Regions from separate parts of the Homo sapiens genome. Here region 2 is linked to region 1. The links are contacts of gene promoters, found by promoter capture Hi-C in human tissues and cell types (Jung and others, 2019). All regions are on one chromosome and are shown on one strand. The core of a region is centred on a gene start or on the middle of the fragment in contact, and the rest is flanking DNA. Distances in the headings are between cores, read along the strand shown.

What was found. Contacts are between HindIII fragments. The study calls those that stand out against the background at their distance.
Region 2: a fragment that was not itself captured here is called in contact with the fragment with the promoter of CYTH4 in region 1 in 3 of the 25 tissues and cell types used here (H1 embryonic stem cells, IMR-90 fibroblasts and adrenal gland).

Annotation. Positions count from the first base shown.
Region 1 is chr22:37,280,065-37,285,403 of GRCh38, reverse strand. CYTH4 (cytohesin 4) reads right to left here and starts at 2,896. Exons shown (of 13, transcript NM_013385.5): 1 at 2,816-2,896. The coding sequence starts at 2,834. RefSeq lists a silencer at 420-539 and enhancers at 770-879, 1,492-1,541, 3,088-3,137. The HindIII fragment of the contact is 18,046 bases long and covers 1-4,160 here.
Region 2 is chr22:37,394,423-37,399,417 of GRCh38, reverse strand. The region is part of intron 2 of ELFN2 (extracellular leucine rich repeat and fibronectin type III domain containing 2); the gene reads left to right. Among named protein-coding and RNA genes, the nearest start is that of ELFN2, 31 kb to the left of the region's middle. The HindIII fragment of the contact is 3,845 bases long and covers 352-4,196 here.

The DNA.
Region 1 (5,339 bases), core at 1,647-4,146:
CTAATAATAATACACACAAATAATAAAATTACCACCACCACCACCACCACCACACACCCCGTTTCCTTCTCACTTATCTCTGTGCTTCTCACAACCTCACAAGGTGTGACATGAACCCCCACCCCAAGCCCACAGGCTGGTGCTGCCCTTGCGCCCAGGCTGGTGAATGTGCCCATCTCCCCGGCTCCTCCCCACTTCCTCTTTGTCCTTCCTCTTTCCCATCGTATTTTTAGAAATCTTTGAGCTTGCAGCCCTGCTTCCAGGACAGCTGGCCTCACTTCCCCTTTCCAGGGCAGGAGGAGGATGCCATCTCAGGGCCCTAAATAAAGAGGCCCCTCAAAGTCTCAGTAGGAGGGACCCTGGGGCAGAGGGGGTGTGGGTGGAGCTGCTCCCCGCCCCAGCCCCACAAGCCCCACAGGCTCTGCGGAGTGCGGCTTCCTCCCCCGCCGCCCCCCCACCGCCCCAGCCGAGCTGGCTCTATTTTTAACTGCGCTGCCTGTCTTCTCTGCACCAGCACAGTGCTTGTCTTTGGCCACACTGGGGCTTTGCTGTCTGGCCCTCTCACCTTCCCGGCAGGCCCTGGGGGAGGGCGCCTTACCTGCTTCCCGACACAGGCCCACCTCAGGAGAGGAGGGGAGGCAGCCCTGGGGGCCCCTGAGTCACCAGCCTGTCCATAATAAAGGTGAGAAAACTGAGGCCCATAGAAGGAAGAGACCATGACCACTGGCAGGGTGGTGCAGAGCTGGAACCTGAGCGAGGTCCGGCTAACTCCCAATCCCCGCTTCCCCAGGCCAGGCCAGGATGATGGCACCCACGTAGAGATGACAAATCAGAACTCAGAGAGGGGAAGTCACCGTGCCATGAAGAAGCCCCATTTAAGACCCAGTCTGGGCAACAGGGAAATGACCTTTTCTCCCTCCCTCTGGCCTCCTCCTCAAGGAGGTCTTCCCAGATCTCCTCTGCCCCAGTGGGAAAAGTTGCTTCCTCCCATCTGTAGGTCTGTGTCCATTTGCACAGCTGGGTCAGGGTCCTGCAGGATGTGGCTCCTGCCTCTCCACCCCACCCCCAACATTCCAGACCAACACCTGTCCCCCAGGGTTAGGCCCATGGCTGGGTCACTGCTGTCCCCAGCACTGCATAGCACACTGGAAGGTCGTTTGTAGAGTGAATGAATGAAAAGACCAACTACTCGATGGAGAACCCATTGACCCCATTTAATCCATTTCCTCCCTAGTACCGGCTGAAGCAAAGCAGAGACTCCCCTCCCCTGCCCTCTCCATAGCCCCGGCCAACCTGGGGCTCTCTCCCGCAGGTTCTCGTCCCTGCTCTGCTGCTGACTGGCCGTGTGACCTCAAGCAAGTCAGTCCCCGTCTCTAGTTCACCTCTGGGAGCCTCAGTTTCCTTATCTGCAACATGGAGACAGCCATCCCTGTAACCTCAGTATGTTAGGACCCGAAAGGACAAAGCGCCCTGCTGGACACACAGGCAGGGGGGTTGCATCTCGGTGGGTGCCCTCCCCCCCTCATCCCACCCTCATGTCTGCTGAGAGGCCTGAGCCAGGTGCTGCCCTTCGCTGGGTCTCCCTGTGCCAACCAGGTGCCCCCAAGCTGTGCTCACTGAGCTGTGATTTTGGGAGCCCCCAAAGCCCATGGGAGAGGCAGGGGTCAGAGTGAGCCCTGGATAGGGATTCAGGGAACAGGATTTGGTCCTGCTCCTGCCTTAGAGAGGCTGTTTTCCTCCCTTGGCCTCTTTTCTCCCTTCTGCCACTGGGGGGGCTGTTGAAATGGATCAGTGGTTCTCTGGGTTCCCTGGGGCCCGAGGCTTCCATCTGGGGGTGGGGAGGAAGGGGGATGCCCAGTGGGCGGGGCCAGGCTGCTCCACATTAGGTGCGTTTGAAGCAAGGGTGCTCCTGGACAAGGCTGAGGTCATCTGGACCTGGGGAGCAGACAGCTCCCACGAGCCCTTAGGTTCTGGAATTCCAGCAGCCGTGTTCACCAGAACTGTTGCAGCTCTGGAGCATGCTGACATCCAGGGTGCAGAAACTTGGCCCCTCTACCGGGCCTTCAATTTGCCTCCCAAAACACGACCCTGATGTTCTTTTCCTCACCATCTTTGCAGCCTCCTTTCTCCTCTTTCTCCCCAGACACATTGTCTTAGTAGCTGGGGAGGGTTTCAACCAGAGCCTCTGTTGCTCACTCCTGGCCCTCCCCTGGCTCTAGGCAGCGTCCTCAGCCTCCCCAAAGACCACCCCAACCCCCGGGGGCCAAAAAGGGGCCTCAAGGCCCTTGTATCACCCAGACAAGCATCGCCATCACCAACATCCCATCATCATCTTAATCGCAAGTCACTTTTCTGAGTCCACCTCTGAGCCTTTGGACTGGCTGTTCCTTCTGGCTGGAATGTTTGTTCCTTAGAAAGCCCCTTAGCTGACATCTTCCTCAGGTCCCTCATCAGACAGCATCTCCTCTTGGGGCCTTTTCCACCATGCATTCCTGTCTTCCTTACCCTGCTTTACTGTTCTTCATCCTACCTGCCATCAACTGACATATGGAATCACATTAGAGTCACTGCCGGTCTCCTCATCTAGAGCACAAGCCTATGAAGGGGGAAACAGCGTCTGCTTTGCTACTGCTGTGTGTCCAGCCCCTAGAACGCAACTGGACACACAGGCTGAGCCCACAAATGTTTGCTTCTTGCAGCTGCATTTCCCACCTGCGCTGTATTCCTTTATCTAGGACCCTGTGAGGCAGGGGCTGCTGTCCCATTCTAAAAGAGAGCACCCTGAGGCCCAGAGAGGTTGACGGCAGTTGCTTACCTGGGTGGCACAGGTCCATTCCGACGCCTCTGGGGAAAAGATGACCCGTGCTCCTGTCGCTTGCCGACCCAGCTGCTGTTCGGGCTGGCCCGGCAAGGATGCGTCACCTTGACTGTAACAGGCTCCTTCCTGCTTGCCCCGCCCAGCCCTGTGTGGGGAGGAAGTCAGTCCTGGCCCACGGGGGTCTCGTGTGCAGGCTTTTGACAAAACAGCACTTCCTAAAAACTGGCAGAGTTTTGAGCAGCAGGGACTTTTGCCAGGGAGGGACAGAGGTGGAAACAAACAAACAAACAAACAAACAAACAGATGAAGTGAGGGGAGGGCCAGATAAAAAAGAGAAAGACAGTGAGACAGAAAGAAACACACAGACACATATGCACATACACACGTACACATGCACAGACACCGAGGGCGATGTTCACTGAGGACGAACATTTTCCAGGGGACCATGGGCATTCACGTGGCAGCCTCCTCACATATATGCCATAGGAGCGCCCAACTTGGACAGTCCTAGCAGGGCCCCCTGTGTTCCACCCCACAAGCTCTCTTCCAACTCCCACTTGAGAAGAGACAAATGAATTCACTGCTAGGAAGGGCTTTGCTTCCCTTCAAAGAAATATCTGGCTTTTTCTTGTCTAGTGAACAATCGGGTAATATGTTCCACTTTCCTTCTCCCCCAGGCTGCTGGGAAACTCATCGTCAAATCCAAAGCTCATCGACAGCTATTCTATGATGTCATGTGAACTTTGGGGCCTGACTCAGCTGTTTGACTCTCAGCTAGGGCTAGTCAGCCTCGCTTTGCTTATCTCTGAAAGGGGAATAACACTAACTCGGGGATATGGAAACCATGGAGTGAGAGGATGTGTCGGAGATGCTTGGGACATAGTAGGTGCTCAATAAACACTTTCTCCTTTGATTTTAATTATCTTCTTTGGTTAAAATGTATCATGTTATTCCTTGTGCCTTTTCTGGCAGGTTGGTTCAAATCCTTTCTGCAAAAAGCTTTGCTGTAAAGAAACAGGTATAAATTAAATGTGAATTCCCTATAACTTCAGGACACATGCAGAGTTATTCATCTGTTTCCCCATTACTCTCCAGGCCCCATGAGGGCAAGGTTACCTTTTGTGTTCTGGTGTGTGGTAAAATGCTGGGGACATAGAGGGTGTGCAAGTGTGGAATGAATGAACAAATGAATGAATGAATGAATGAATGAAGGGAACATGGAAGAGATCACGGCCGATGTGAAAGCTAGCTACAAGTTCACCTCCTTTTCACTATGCCGCCGCTTCTGCTGTCAAGGGGCGAAGTCCATTTCTCCTTCCTTGGAAGCTGAGCTGGCCTTGGGCATCTCTTTGACCAATAGCACGTGGCAGAAATGATGTGCCGTGATGTTCGAGGCTGAGCTTTAAAAGGCCTTGCAGCTCCTGCTCTTGCTCTCAGCCCCCTGCCTGGCTACCATGAGAACAAGCCTGGGCTAGCCTGTTGGAAGACGGAGGACCACAAGGAGATAGGCTGGGCTGTCTTGGCTGTCCCCTGGTTGCTGCCTCATCAGTGAGGCCAGGGGACACCAGAAGAAGAACCATCAAGCGGAGTCCCACCCAAACTGCTGACCCATAGCACTGTGGGAAATAATACATTTTTGTGGTTTAAGCCACCAACTTCTGGGATGCTTTGTTATGCAGCCAAAGCTTGCTGATACAGAAGAAATCCAATGCTGTCATTTCCTCGGAGAGAAAACTGAGGCTTATTTCTGGGAAACACTTGACCAAGTTGGAACTTGAGTGAGTGCCAATTCAGGCCCAGAAGCCAGGCCTACTAAGTCCCCGTCTAGTGTGCTCAGGATTTTTGAACCCCGCTGCTTCTCCCCTGCCCTGCCTCCACCTGGGTTCTTGTATAACTCATGGTTCTTTTCTGGAAAACTTGTTACAATTATTTCCATGGTAAACTAGATTTTTCTCAACTGCTTTGGGCCTGAGGCACCACAAACCATGCCCTTGGCCATTTTAAAACTAGAAATGTGGGCTGGGCATAGTGGCTCATGCCTGTAATCCCAGCACTTTGGGAGGCCGAGGCGGGTGGATCACAAGGTCAGGAGATCAAGACCATCCTGGCCAACGTGGTGAAACCCCGTCTATACTAAAAATACAAAAATTAGCTGGGCATGGTGGCGGGTGCCTATAATGCCAGCTACTTGGGAGGCTGAAGCGGGAGAATCACTTGAACCAGAGAGTCGGAGGTTGCAGTGAGCTGAGATCGCGCCACTGCACTCCAGCCTGGCAACAGAGTGAGACTCCGTCTCCAAAAACAAAACAAAAGAAAAAACAAAACAAACAAAATAACCCCTAGAAATATGGAGAAAGGTATATATAATTCCCTGTGCAGAAAGACTTCACACTGCAGGCCGGAGACTGCTATCTTTAGAAAGTCATGCTTGCAAAGTTGACCCTTGGCTGGCACCTGGGAGCTTGGATTTGGGGAGGGCTCCCACCACCCTAACTGATGAGAGTGGCTTACTGGGCCTAAC
Region 2 (4,995 bases), core at 1,025-3,524, 110 kb before region 1:
GAGGGAGCATGTTTCCTCAGCAGACAGTTCTCAAGGAGCCAGTATGGGCCTGGGCATGAAAAGAGTCCCTGCCCTCAGGAAGCCCACACAGGGGCAGACTTGCCAGCCAGTCCTTACAGGGTGGCTGAGGCCTGGTGGGCTGGAAGGCTTCCTGTAGGAGGCAGCTTTGAGTCCTGCCTGAGAAGTAGCACTCACTGGGCGGGGATGGGACAGGAGGGTACTCCAGGCCGGGGAATCTCAAGGGGAAAGGCCAAGAGCTGCAAAAAGCCTCTCCGAGTTCAGAGAGGGGTAAGAAGCTCACGTGCCCATCCCTGGGAGTGGGGAGGGAGGATCCAGGAGTCTGGGGAGGACACCAGAGGCCCCTGAGCTCCCTCCGGGCCAGGAAAAGGCTGGACGCTGTGTCTTCCAGCAGCAGGGAGCATGTATGTGTTTGGGAACAGGCCAGGTGGATGCTGTGTTCCAGGAAGGAGCTGGTAGGGGAGCTGAGGAATTACAGGGGGTGTTTCTTGGAGGTGCTGTTCTGGGGTTGGGCTGGAGGTGGGAAGGTGGGTAAGGCAGGAGTGGAAGTAGAGGCCCAAGCAAGGGAGGAGCCTAGGAGATCCCGCACCAGCTGGAGAGGTGTACATGTGTGCACATGTGTGCACACATGACATGTGTAGATGCGTGTGTGTGCACGCCTGCGTGTGTGAAGCGGGGAGCAGTTTGTCTTGATGGTATTGGAGGGCACATTGCAGAGACAGAGCCAAGCCAGATCATGAGGGGCCTAAACTGTGGAGCAGAGGAGCTGGGGAGGCGCCAGAGGCTTTAGAGCAGGGCGGCGATGTGAGTGCGCTGCGGGAGGCTTCCTTGGGCTGCTGTGCAGAGGATGGGCTGAGGCAGGGTAGGCGACAGTCAGTTAGGAGACTGCTGTGCTGGGGGGCTTTACTGGGGTAGGGGGAAGGGGCCGGACAGGAGTGGGGTGGTGGAGCCCAGGGCGGCTCAGTGGAAGAGGTAGCATTTGATGAGAATGTAAAGGGTGAGAGGTTTGCTTTCTGGAAGTGGAAGGAGAGGCACGGCAGGTGGCTGGAACAGTCCCTACGAAGGCTTGCAGGAGGGAGAGGCCAGGCTGGAGGCCAGTATATTCAGGGGCCTTTGAGGAATAAAGGGCAGGTTGGAGTCAAAAAATAATGTTGTTTAGTGAGGCCCTCCATGTGCCCGGCACGGTCTACCCAGGCCTGAGCGCTAGCTCCACCGCCCACAGCTGCCTGGCTCTGGGTAAGGCGTTTGACCCTGGCACCTTCATTGTCTATCAAATGGGGACCCTGTTAGACTCAGCCTCCCAGAGTCACTGTGAGGATTAGATGCAATAATCCACCCGCAGCGTGGCCTGGAAGATGTTCGGCTGTTATTGGCTGTGTCCTTACCGTCTCATTTGACACAGCAACCCTGCAGGGCAGCCTCGCACCCCCAGGGACCAGTGCAGACGTCCGCTCAGAGAAGCTGCGCGGGCTGCCGAGGCCACACAGCTGAGGGGAACCGAGCAAGGGTCTGAGTCCAGGTTATGAGGACCCCAGACTTGGTGTTCTTTCCCGGGTGCCCACAGCCTCCCAGAACGCCTGTAAAATGCCCAGCCCGGTAGCTCGTTCCCCTCCTTGTGCTTAGGAAGCTCCTGGATCCAATGTAAGAAGAAGTGGGCAGGAGACCAATGCCGATCTCTGGGTTCAGGTCGGCTGCTTGCTCTTGGAGCCTCAGTTTCCTCATTTGGAAGTGAGAGCCCCACGTCCCCACATAAGAAGGTCACGCGGGGCTCCCACAAGGCCAGCAGAGTCAGCTGACCTTGGGGTCTAGGCGAGGCTTCCAGCAGGGGCTCTGTCCACGTTCCCCCTCCTTTCCCTGTCCCTCTGCACCCGTCTGACCAGACTGTCCTGTGGGCAGGGCCAGCATGGGAGCCATCGTACTGGACGGCTTCCTGATGGTCACAGCAGCCAGAAGGAGCTGGGAGGCCTGGCTGTCATCAGTCATAATAATGGGCACACTCAGCGTGGGTGGGGGTGAGCGAGTGGAGACGGATGCCAGCTGGGAATTACATGCCTGGGGGCCTATGTTGTTCTTTTGTGTTTTCAATTTTCACTCCCTGGGTGCCTTCTCCATGCCAGGCTTCTCACTGGGGGCACTGAGGGGGCACAGAGGGGCACGCCGTGCTTCCTGGCCCTCTGGAGGGGACACAGTGACCCTTCAGTGGGATGCCACTTGGAGCTGGTGAGCATGGGGGTGCTGTGGAGTGGAGTGGTGAAGCCAGACCAGGGATTCAAGGAAGGCTTCCTGGAGGCGGTGATGCCCGAGCTGAAGCTGGTAGGAGTTCACCGTGTTGGTGGTCACCCACCAAGAAGGAGCTTAGGCTCTAGCCCTGGGGCTGCAGGGAGCCCTAGAAAGATTTTGAGCAGGAGAGACAGCATCAGAGCTGCCCTCCGGAAGCCTCCCTCTGCCTGGAAAAAAAGGAGATCCCTGTGAGTGATAGGCAAGTGATGATAGTGGCCTGTCCTGGCATGGACTTGGAGGCTGGTCTGATCTTCATCTTCCAGTGGGAGAGGCAGGAGTTGACGGGAAAGCTGGGATCTGGGCCTGAGCAAGCAGGCAGGCAGTGGTGACCATGACCGAGCGCGATCTGAGCAGCCAGGGGCATGCATGAAGCCACCCTGGAGGAGAGGGCAGACGAGGGTGCCACAGGCCAAGGACAGAGCCTGGAGGAGCAGCAGTGGTTAGTGGGTCGGGGCAGGAAGGGGGCGCCTGGAAGGGAAGGGGGCGTGGCTGGGAGGCCGTAGGGCTCAAGGCTCTTGTCCTCTCTGGGTTCAGTTTCCTCACCTGCTGCATGACAGGGGCCTGGGTAGTGCTAAGGGATCTGCCAGCTCTGACCTCCTTCAAAGTGCCCCAGAGGGTCTGAAAGTAGATGGCACAAGGTGTGCCCGCTGGGGGATCCTGGCACCCAAGCAGCTCTGCTCCTGGGGTTTGGAAATGAGTGCGCTAACAGAGTTGGCTTCTGCAGCATTTGCTGAGCCTCTTCTGCACGCTGGCCCCATGTTGGGGGCCGGGGACATGGTGGGGACACAGCCCTCGTCCCACCCTTGGGGTGTGCAATACAGAAGCACCTAGAAAGCCAGGAGTGTTAGCTCACTTTCAGCAAACCCAATCTGAAAATTCAAGCTTTTGATGGGGAATTGGAGGCTGATACTTAGTTTATAAAATAATTCACAGGAAGCTTTCTTTAAATAGCAAAGTCTCTGGCGCATTTGTCCGTCTGTGAGTTCCTGGCTTGTCTTTGTGTTTTCCACGGTGTGCCTGAAATCCTAGGCTAGGTGCTCATCGGATGTGGAATGTCTGGTTAGCTGGATGCAGCCCCTTCCGGGGGTCTCCAGCCCTCCGGTGGTAGCGGGTCCTCAGAGGTGCTGAGCCTCCCACTTAACCACCAGCTTCGGGTATCTGGGGGCTCAGCTGTGTCCGTGACCCTTCTTCTGGCTTCCTGTTGGGTCTGTGGTGCTTGTGCTGACAGCAGACAGGGACCTGCACCCTGCTTGTCCCCTGAGCCCTGAACAGGTGGCTCCCTGCCCCTCCCACCCTGGGCCTCCCTTGGTGATGCCCTGCACGCCAGACACTAGTTTTGCAGGTCTTTGCAGCCCACGGTGCCAAGCCCAGGACCTGGTGTGTGGTGGGCCCCTGGGTGCACGGATATTGTGCCAGTGCTGACAGGACCCCCAGGTTGTCTTGTCCACATCCCCTGCCCCCCGTGGGTGAGGAAGCCAAGGCCCAGGTAGAGAAGGACTTTGCTCAGCTCCTGGCTGCCACAGAGCCAGCCAAGGGGTGCCTCTCTCCCTAGAGTGCCCCTGACAGCAGAGGAGGCTGGGAAGGAGATCTGGGCAGAGCTAGAGGGGACAACACCTTGGTGTGTCTCAGGCCCTGCCACTTCTTAGCTGTGTGCCTTTGGGAAGTGGCTTCACTGCTCTGGGCCTGATCCCTCGTGTCTCAGATGGGTAGAATAACAGTGCCCGTCTCCCAGGGCCGTGGAGGGGTTTTCATGAAGTGATTGATGTAAATGCCTACTTGGGTCTGGCGTGTGGTCGGCACTCGATTGATGCTCCTTGACTACTTCTAGGACGTTTCTTCTGGTGCTGGAACCAGGCACAGGCAGAGCCAGGTTTGAATCCCAGCCTCACCACTTACCAGCTGTGACGCTGTGAGGCCACTTTGTCTTTCTGAGCCTCCGTTTTCTCATCTGAGAAATTAATCCAACAATATTTATTTATTTATTTATTTATTTATTTATTTATTTATTTATTTTTGAGACAGAGTCTCACTCTGTCACCCAGGCTGGAGTGCAGTGGCGTGATCTTGGCCCACTGCAACCTCTGCCTCCTGGGTTCAAGTGATTCTCCTGCCTCTCAGCCTCCCGAGTAGCTGGGACTACAGGCGTGTGCCCCCTTTCCCAGCTAATTTTTGTATTTTTAGTAGAGACGGGGTTTCGCTATGTTGGCCAGGCTGGTCTCGAACTCCTGACCTCGTGATCCGCCCGCCTCGGCCTCCTAAAGTGTTGGGATTACAGGCGTGAGCCATTGCGCCTGGCCTGACGATCTTTATCTTGACACCCTGTAAGGTCGGGGGTTGGTGTTGAGTTTGCGGCAGCCAACCCAGTGCTCAGTCCCAGGCGAGGAGTGAAGAGTTCTTCATTTACAGCGTATGAGGCACTGTTGACAGTCACCACGGCCCGTAGGATGAAATTGCTGTCTGCACTCGATGGGGGCATTCCTTTAAGCTGCGGGATCGCTCTGCCTACTGTGTGCCGGGGCGGGAGCTGCGGGGGAGGACTCACGGTGCTGGCCACTGCGGCCCCCTGACGGTCCACGGGGGCTGGACACTCACCAAGGAGTCATCCTGGGAGAGGTGAGGCTGCCCGGGAGGAGGGCGGGAGGGAGCCTGGAACAGGCGGCCGGGCCAGGCCCCTGAGGGGCCTTGACCTTCAGGAGG